Regions from separate parts of the Homo sapiens genome. Here region 1 is linked to region 2. Evidence: promoter capture Hi-C in human tissues and cell types (Jung and others, 2019). All regions are on one chromosome and are shown on one strand. The core of a region is centred on a gene start or on the middle of the fragment in contact, and the rest is flanking DNA. Distances in the headings are between cores, read along the strand shown. Region 1 has its middle 15 kb from the start of LINC00302. Region 2 holds the start of LCE3D (late cornified envelope 3D).

Evidence for each region. Contacts are between HindIII fragments. The study calls those that stand out against the background at their distance.
Region 1: a fragment that was not itself captured here is called in contact with the fragment with the promoter of LCE3D in region 2 in 2 of the 25 tissues and cell types used here (lymphoblastoid cells and neural progenitor cells).

The regions. Positions count from the first base shown.
Region 1 is chr1:152,638,707-152,642,611 of GRCh38, forward strand. No RefSeq gene overlaps it. Among named protein-coding and RNA genes, the nearest start is that of LINC00302, 15 kb to the right of the region's middle. The HindIII fragment of the contact is 5,806 bases long and covers 1-3,905 here.
Region 2 is chr1:152,577,840-152,582,200 of GRCh38, forward strand. LCE3D (late cornified envelope 3D) reads right to left here and starts at 2,677. Exons shown (of 2, transcript NM_032563.2): 1 at 2,630-2,677; 2 at 1,542-2,118. The coding sequence starts at 2,097. The coding sequence ends at 1,819. The HindIII fragment of the contact is 3,963 bases long and covers 1,481-4,361 here.

The DNA.
Region 1 (3,905 bases), core at 691-3,190, 60 kb after region 2:
CATGAGGATAGAGACTAAAATTGTTTTGTTTTTCTGCTATAGTTTAAATGTCCCCTCCAACACTCATGTTGCAATTTGGTTGCCATTGTAACAGTGTTGAAAATTTGGGCCTTTCAGAGGTGATTGGGCCATGAGGGCTCCACCATCATGAGTGGATTAGTGCTGTTGTCATGGGAGTGGGCTAGTTGTTGCAGGAGTGGGTTCCTGATAAAGGAATAAATTCAGTCCCCATTTTCTCTCTGTCTCATATATTCACTTGGCCTTCTGCCTTCTGCCTTCTGCCACAGAATAACCCTTACCAGATACTAGCACCATGCTCTTGGACTTCCCAGCCTCCAGAACTGTAAGCCAAATAAACTATTGTGTTTAAATTATCCAGTCTTTTTTTTCCTAACTTTTATTTTAGGTTTAGGAGTACATGTGCAGGATTGTTATATAGCCAAATTGCATGTTGTGGGGGTTTGGTGTACAGATTATTTAGTCACCCAGGTGATAAGTATAGTAGCTGAGAGGTACTTTTTTTGATTCTCTCTCTTCTCCCAGTCTCCATCCTCAAGTAGGCTCTGGTGTCTGTTGTTGCCCTCTTTGCATCCGTGTGTTCTCATTGTTTAGCTCCCACTTACAAGTGAGACATAAAAAAAATTAACTAGTGTTTGGTACTCTGTCATGGCAGCAGAAAATAGACTAAGAAATCACTTAATAGTTTCTGGCATAAATTTGGCACTCAATAAATAACTGGTCAATGAATAAATGGATGAGCTTTTGTTGTGCCTCCCCCCCAAAAAAATTTTAGAAATATATTTACTATTTAAAGAGCTTCCCCCTTACGTTGATGATATTTAACATGACAAAGGTGATGATACTGACAAAAACCCCATGTCTAGGTGACATCTTATGATGTGGTTGTGGGGTTAGAGTGTTTAATTGGCATTCTTAACCATAGAAATGTCCACATTCCTTTATATCTTTCTATTTTTTTTGCCCCAACAGCAAAACACTAACAATTAGTATGAGCGTCTTCCATATATGGGTCCACTGTATGTTACTGGAGAGAAGCTTTTGAAGGGATTCATGGCAACCAGTTGACCAATCAGCATATCTTCTCCTTGGCTCTGTACTCAGGTCTGTGCTAGAGCTGGGTGACAGAGACAGTTTAATAGGTCTTGATTTCTGCCCTCAATGAGCTTTGACTAATTGGAGGCAGTAAATTTTTATTTAATTAAAATTAAAAGGGAGGAAGGTTTTCAAGGCCCAAAGATAGCATGAGTTTGTGCCTGAAGGCAGTAGGATGAAAGGTGTGCTCTGGTACCAATAAGCAGGGGTGTCAATAGTACTATCTGGGTGGCAGGATATGTGGGGATGATTATTAATCTATTCTTTCTATATCCCCATAGTTTCCAAACTATTTTTACAATTTTAAAGTTGATTGAAAAAGAATCCTAAATGGTTACTGTTGCAGTATGGAAGGTTTTTTTTTTTTCTTTTTGGTTGGGGTAAGCTATAGGCAGAATGGCCACCCAACCAGTTATTTTTCTAGTACAGGAGATAGGCAAAGGCCAGTCTGTGGCATGTGCAGTGGCATAGGGAGGAGCAGATAGCTGTATAACATGCAGAGCCACTCTGTTATCGAATCTCAGCCCAATCTGGGTCTGGAATTTTCTCTACATAGACTCTTCTCAGTTTGACACTAGGGAAAGTTGTCTTTATTTCCCTGTTGGTACTTGAGCTATTTCCCCAACATTTTCCTGAGTCATAGGCCCTATCATGGCCAGAGGATTAAGCTTGGAAAGAAAACAGATATTCTGGTTAGATCTTGAGGGCTGTGGGTGTTCTAAAAATGTATTCTCAGCTCTCACCTGTTCTTGGCCCCTGGCAAGCAAGAAAAGCAACAAGGGTGATGGCCTTCAGCTGTGGCCTCCTGTGGTGGGTATGATTGTTGAGTAAGTCCAAATGGAAATGAGACATTGGTTCAGCTTCCTAGTCTAGACTTTCTGGCAACCCAGACTCACTTTTCACAGCAAAACACCAGCAGCAACAACGACAAATACAGGCTTCATTTTAGGACAGTCTCTGCTGTTAGCATGTTACATATATTAACCTGTTTAACTCACAACAGCTCTTCAAGGAAGACATTATTATTATCATTTTAGTAATCTCAGGCTCAGAGAGGTTCACACAGCTACTAAGTGGCAGGACTGGAATTCAAACCCCAGAAGTTTGGTTCAGAGTCTATGCTCTTAACCACCAGGTAATCGGCCAGACTAGACAGAGACACATAGGCATCTGGACAAACTCATTTTACGGGTAATTTCAATCTGGTATTGTGCAAATATATATTCAACACAGATTGAGAAGAGAGATTGAGCTCTGTAATAGGAGAAGGTTTAAACAAAAGGATGTTTCACCAGCTTGCAAAATAAAATTCTACAGTTAACTGGATTTACTCTACAGGCATATTTCGAAGATACTGTGAGTTCAGTTCCAGACCACTGCAATAAAGCAAATATTGCAATAAACCAAGTCAAACGAATTTTTTGTCTTCTCGGTGCATGTGAAAGTTATGTTCACACTATACTACAGTCTATTAAGTGTGCAATAGCATTAAATTTAAGAAATAATGAGGATATCTTAATTAAAAATACACCATAATGTGAGCCTTCATTGAGTTATAATATTTTTGCGGATGCAGGGTCTTGTCTTGATGGTCACTGATTGATCAGGGTGGTGGCTGCCGAAGGTGGGGTAGTTGTGACAATTTTCTGAAATAAGACAACAATGACATTTGCTGCATTGATTGACACTTCCTTTCACAAAAGATTTCTCTGTAGCATGTGATGCTGTTTGATAACATTTTACTTACAGTGGAACTGCTTTCAAAATTTGAGTCAATCCTCTCAAACCTTGCCGCTGCTTTATCACAAAGTTCATGTAATATTTTAAATCCTTTGTTGTCATTCAATAATGATCACAGTATCTTCACAGGAGTAGATTCCATGTCAAGAAACCACTTTCTTTGTTCATCCATAAGAAGCAGCTCCACATCCATTCAAATTTTGTCATAAGATTGCAGCAATTCAGTCCCATCTTCTGACTCCACTTGTATTTCTCTTCCTATGTCCATCACATATACAGTTACTTTCTCCGCTGAAGTCTTGAATCCCTCAAAGTCATCCATGAGGGTTGGAATCAACTTCTTCCAAACTCTTGTTTATGTTGATATTTTGACATTGTCCTATGAATCATGAATTTTCTTAATGGTATCTAGAATGGGGCATCCTTTCTAGAAGGTTTTCAATTGATTTAGCTCAGACACATCAGAGGAATCACTGTCTATGGTAGCTATAGCCTTACAAAATGTTTTTCTTATATAATAATGATGCTTAAAAACTGAAATTATGGCCAGGCTTGGTGGCTCACGCCTGTAATCCCAGCACTTTGGGAGGCCGAGGTGGGCAGATCAGGTCAGGAGATTGAGACCATCCTGGCTAACATGGTGAAACCCCATCTCTACTAAAAGAACAAAAAATTAGCTAGGCATGGTGGCGGGCGCCTGTAGTCCCAGCTACTCAGGAGGCTGAGGCAGGAGAATGGCGTGAGCCCAGGAGGTGGAGCTTGCAGTGAGCCAAGATCGCACCACTGCACTCCAGCCTGGGCAACAGTGCGAGTCTCTGTCTCAAGAAAAAAACAAAAACAAAAACAAACAAAAAAAAACAAAAAAACAAATTACTTCTTGATTCATGGACTTCATAACAGATGTTGTCTTAGCAGGCATGAAAACAAGATTAATCTTGTACATCTCTATCAGAGCTCTTTGCTGAATAGGTGCATTGTGAATGAACAGTAATATTTTGAAAGTTATCCTTTGTTCTGAGCAGTAGGCCTCAAAAGTGGGTTTAAAATATTCA
Region 2 (4,361 bases), core at 1,427-3,926:
ACACATCCAAAACATGACAGAGAAAAATTTTTAAAAAGTTTTATTGAAGTTATGAGTCACATAGTTGGGCTCTTAGCTCTGCAGATTTAAAAAAATCAAACAAAAATAAAAACAAAACACGAAGTTAAACAGGACAAAATAAATGTAAAGTAGAAAATACTAATTGTTTCTAAAGATCTCTTGAAAAGTCTCCAGGGAGGGACAAGTGGCATCAGCGAGGATCACGGACTTATTGGCTGGGTCCTGTGCAGAACTGTTGGACCCACAATTTCCCTGTTTGTAAAATATGGTTATTAAGAGCACCTGGCTTATCGAGTTAGAAAATTAAATGAGTTCATAGTAGTCACTTAGGGTTTTCTAGCACCTAATAAGCAAATAAGTTTTTGATCTTACAATTATTCTAATTTATAAGCCTAGCAATACTTCTCATTTTCTCTCTTCCTTTATCTTAATGGTCTCAGTCCACACCTTCCACATTACTACATTCCCTAAGCTCTCAGCTCCATTTCTCCCCTGACCCAGGACTTCTTAAGCTTTAATTAATTCTACTCCCTCCACCTTCTCTCTCTGAAGATTTAATTGTGTATGTGGAGTTATCTGTTTTTCCTGAGACCAGCTTTTTCTTTTTTCTTTTCTTTTCTTTCTTTTCTTTTTGAAATGGAGTTTCACTCTTGTTGCCCAGGCTGGAGTGCAGTGGTACAACAGGCTCACTGCAACCTCTGCCTCCCAGGTTCAAGCAATTCTCCTGCCTCAGCCTCCTGAGTAGCTGGGATTACAGGCATCTGCCACTATGCCAAGCTATTTTTTTTTTTTGTATTTTTAGTAGAGACTAACCATATAACATGTGGTTTCATCATGTTGGTCAGGCAGTCTCAAACTCCTGACCTCAGGTAATCCACTTGCCTCAGCCTCCCAAAGTGCTAGGATTACAGACAGCTGAGGCCATGTTTTTCTTTACCCATCTTTTAATTGTAGTCTAAAGGTTTTCAGCCTTGCAATTATTGGACTTCTTGGGGCAGATAATTCTCCACTGTGGGGCTGTTCTATGCTTAGTAGGAGGCTTAGCTGCATCCCTGGCCTCTACCCACTAGATGCCAGAAATTCTCTTTCTACCTCTAAGTTTTGACAACAAAAAATGTCCCTTGGAGAGTCAAATTTACCCCTTTAGAAGAAATGCTAATTCTGCCTATTTTTTTGATAATTGCCTGCTACATCTTCACTGTTTTGTAATAGAGATGTCAGAAACATCTAGTAGCTAGCTCCTCCTACGACTGGGGAGTCCATTATGAGAGGACAATCACATTTCAGTCATTCTTTTCTGACAGTTAGAGGCCTCACTACAACCCCTCTCATCACATCCTGTCCCCCACTGCCGCACAATTCCAGCAGAAAAGGACTCGACAGATTCCTGAATTTTGCAGACCTAGAGCTAGAATTCTGCATCTTCCCTGTGGTGGTGCTGGATGTCAGGGGCAGACAGGAGGGCACACTTCCAGCCCCACCTAGGGAGAGACAGAGTGAAATGCCAAGGGAGACACCAGTGGTAATGAGGACAAGGAGCTTTATTTTTTGATGAGGTCAGGCACAAGCACTGCCAATCCTTCACAGGTACAGGGGTAAGGGAACATGTGACATCCTGGACATCAGACAGGAAGTGCCTTCTGGGGAGAGCTCAGACCTTCCACAGGAAAACCCCTAGCTCAGCCTGTGAAAGCCAGAAGAGGGTATCTGGGAACTCATGCATCAAGATGGGGTTTTCCTGGGCCCTTGGGATTCTTGTTTCCTCCAAAATCGCTTGTCTCAGCATCAGGATCCAGGTCAGCAGCAGCCTCCAGAGCCATGGCCGCAGCCAGAGCCCCCGCCTTGCTGACCACTGCCCCTGTCACAGGAGTTGGGCCTCTGGCGCCGGCATCGGTGGTGGCGCCTGTGGTGGTTCAGGAAGCAGCCGCCCTCGGAGCTAGGGCCACAGCCCCCAGAGCTTGGGGCACAGCCAGAGGAAGCTGGAGGCAGACACTGTACTGGGCTCTTTGGGGGACACTTGGGTGAGGGACACTTGGGTGGGGGTTGGCACTGCTGCTGGTTCTGCTGGCAGGACATCTTGGCAGGAGTTGAGTTGTCCTGGACAAAACAAAGCCATTTGTTAGTCCAAAATCTACAGTCCAATGTCTCTAAGACCAGCGGCCTCCTGAGGCAAGAGCTGCAGGAAGGTGAGGGAAGCTGATGTGGAGTTGGTGGGACATGCCAGATGCCTCTCACTTTGTTCTCCACCAGGGACAGATTGCTGTGAGTCTAAGTGGGCATCCATGTTTCTGTTTCTCCAAAGAGCCTCTAGGAATGTACCCTTTTGACAAAAGGCATTCTGGAGAATGGAGATCATAGGAAACATGTGCCAGCCTGAGTAGAAAGAGGATGGGAAGGAATCATAAGCTTCTGTGGCCTTTGCAGGTCATGGAATTGCTGTCAGTTCCTGCAGGGTCTCCCTCCTGGCCCCAGTTCCCACATTGGTACCCTCTCTGCCATCCTCTCTCCGGGCTTTTGTTTCAGATCTCTCCATTTCCCTCTCCTGCTATGACCTTAGTTTTCTGTTCCAACATCCCAAGTTGAGTCCCATCCCCTGCTGGACACTCACCAGGTGCAGAGGAGGCAGGAGAAGGCTGTTCCTGAGGAGACGGTGGATGAGGAGCCCAGGGCAGGAGTGCTTTTATCTTGTGCACGGTGTGTGATGCACAGCCTGGGCATGCTGCTGCTTTCACAACCAGGGGAGGTGTCAACAAGGCACACGCCCAAGACTAGGTTTGTAGCTTTGGCACTTCCATAATATCCAACCAATGACATTGAACCTGGAAGCAGGATCACTGTCCACATACCTCTCACCTGGGAGGCTACCACTGCTTCTTTTCTTCCTCCCTTCTTCCTTGTTTCAACTCACGTGCTGTGGAGCACAGTCTGTCCTTTACAATTTCCTGGGAATTAGTATGACATAATTCTTTCTTGAGTCATGACTGGAGAAATAATAGTCATTTCAACAAATAGAGATGAAATAATTGGACGTCCATATGTAAAAGAAATCATACCTAATGCTAGATATAAAAATTAATAGATCATAATTTAAAAAATTAAACTATGAAACTTCTGCAATAAAACATAATAAATCTTTGTGACTTTGGGTTATGCAAAATTTTTCAGATATGCCAAAAAGGTACAATTCAAAAAAGAAATATAGGACTTCATCAAAATTAAAAACTTCTGCTTTTCAAAAGGCACTGCTAGGCAAATGCAAAGAAAATTCACAGACTTGGAGACAATATTGTAAAACACAAATCTTACCAAGGACTTGGTTCAAGAATTTTTTTTTTATTTTTATTTTTTGAGACGGAGTCTTGCTCTGTCGTCCAGACTGAAGTGCAGTGGCGCGATCTTGGCTCACTGCAAGCTCTGCCTCCCGGGTTCTCGCCATTCTCCCTGCTCAGCCTCCCAAGCAGCTGGGTCTACAGGCGCCTGCCACCACACCCAGCTAATTTTTTTGTATTTTTAGTAGAGATGGGGTTTCACTGTGTTAGCCAGGATGGTCTCTATCTCCTGACCTGTGATCCACCCGCCTCGGCCTCCCAAAGTGGTGGGATTACAGAGCCACTGTGCCCGGCCAATGTTTTTTAAATTCTCAAAAATAGGTAATAACACAGAAAATATGGGCAAAGTATTTGAAGAGTCATTTTAACAAAGAAGATATATGGGTGGCAGTTAAGCACATGAAAAGATACTCAACCTAATCAGTCATTAGAGAAATGCAATTTAAAAGCAAAGTGAGATACCACTCTATACACATTGGAATGGCTAAAATGAAATAAATGACAATATCAAGTAATATGAGGGATGTAGAACAACAAGAAGCCCAAGTCATTGCTGGTAGAAATGCAAAATTACATTAGTTGGCAGTCTATCAAAAAAATTAAACATACAACTTACAATTTGCCCCAGAAATCCTATTCTTAGATATTTAGCCAAAAGAAATATAGTTGTATGTTCACAGAAAAACCTGTAGCCCAACATTTATAGTGGCTTTATTCATAACTGCCCTGAATTTGAAGAACCCCACAAGATCTTCAACTGATGAATAGAGTTTTAAAAATGGTATATTTATGCAATGGAAGGCTACTTAGCAATAAAAAAGGAATCAACTACTGATATATAAAACAACAGGGATGAATCTCAAATGCAAAAGAAGTCAGACTTTACATACTACATATTATATAATTTTAATTATAGGGCATTCTTGAAAAGGCAAAATTATAAGAACTGAAAATAGGTCAGTGGTTGCCAAGGGCTGGTATGAGGGAGAGGCTGATTTAATAAGCAGATGA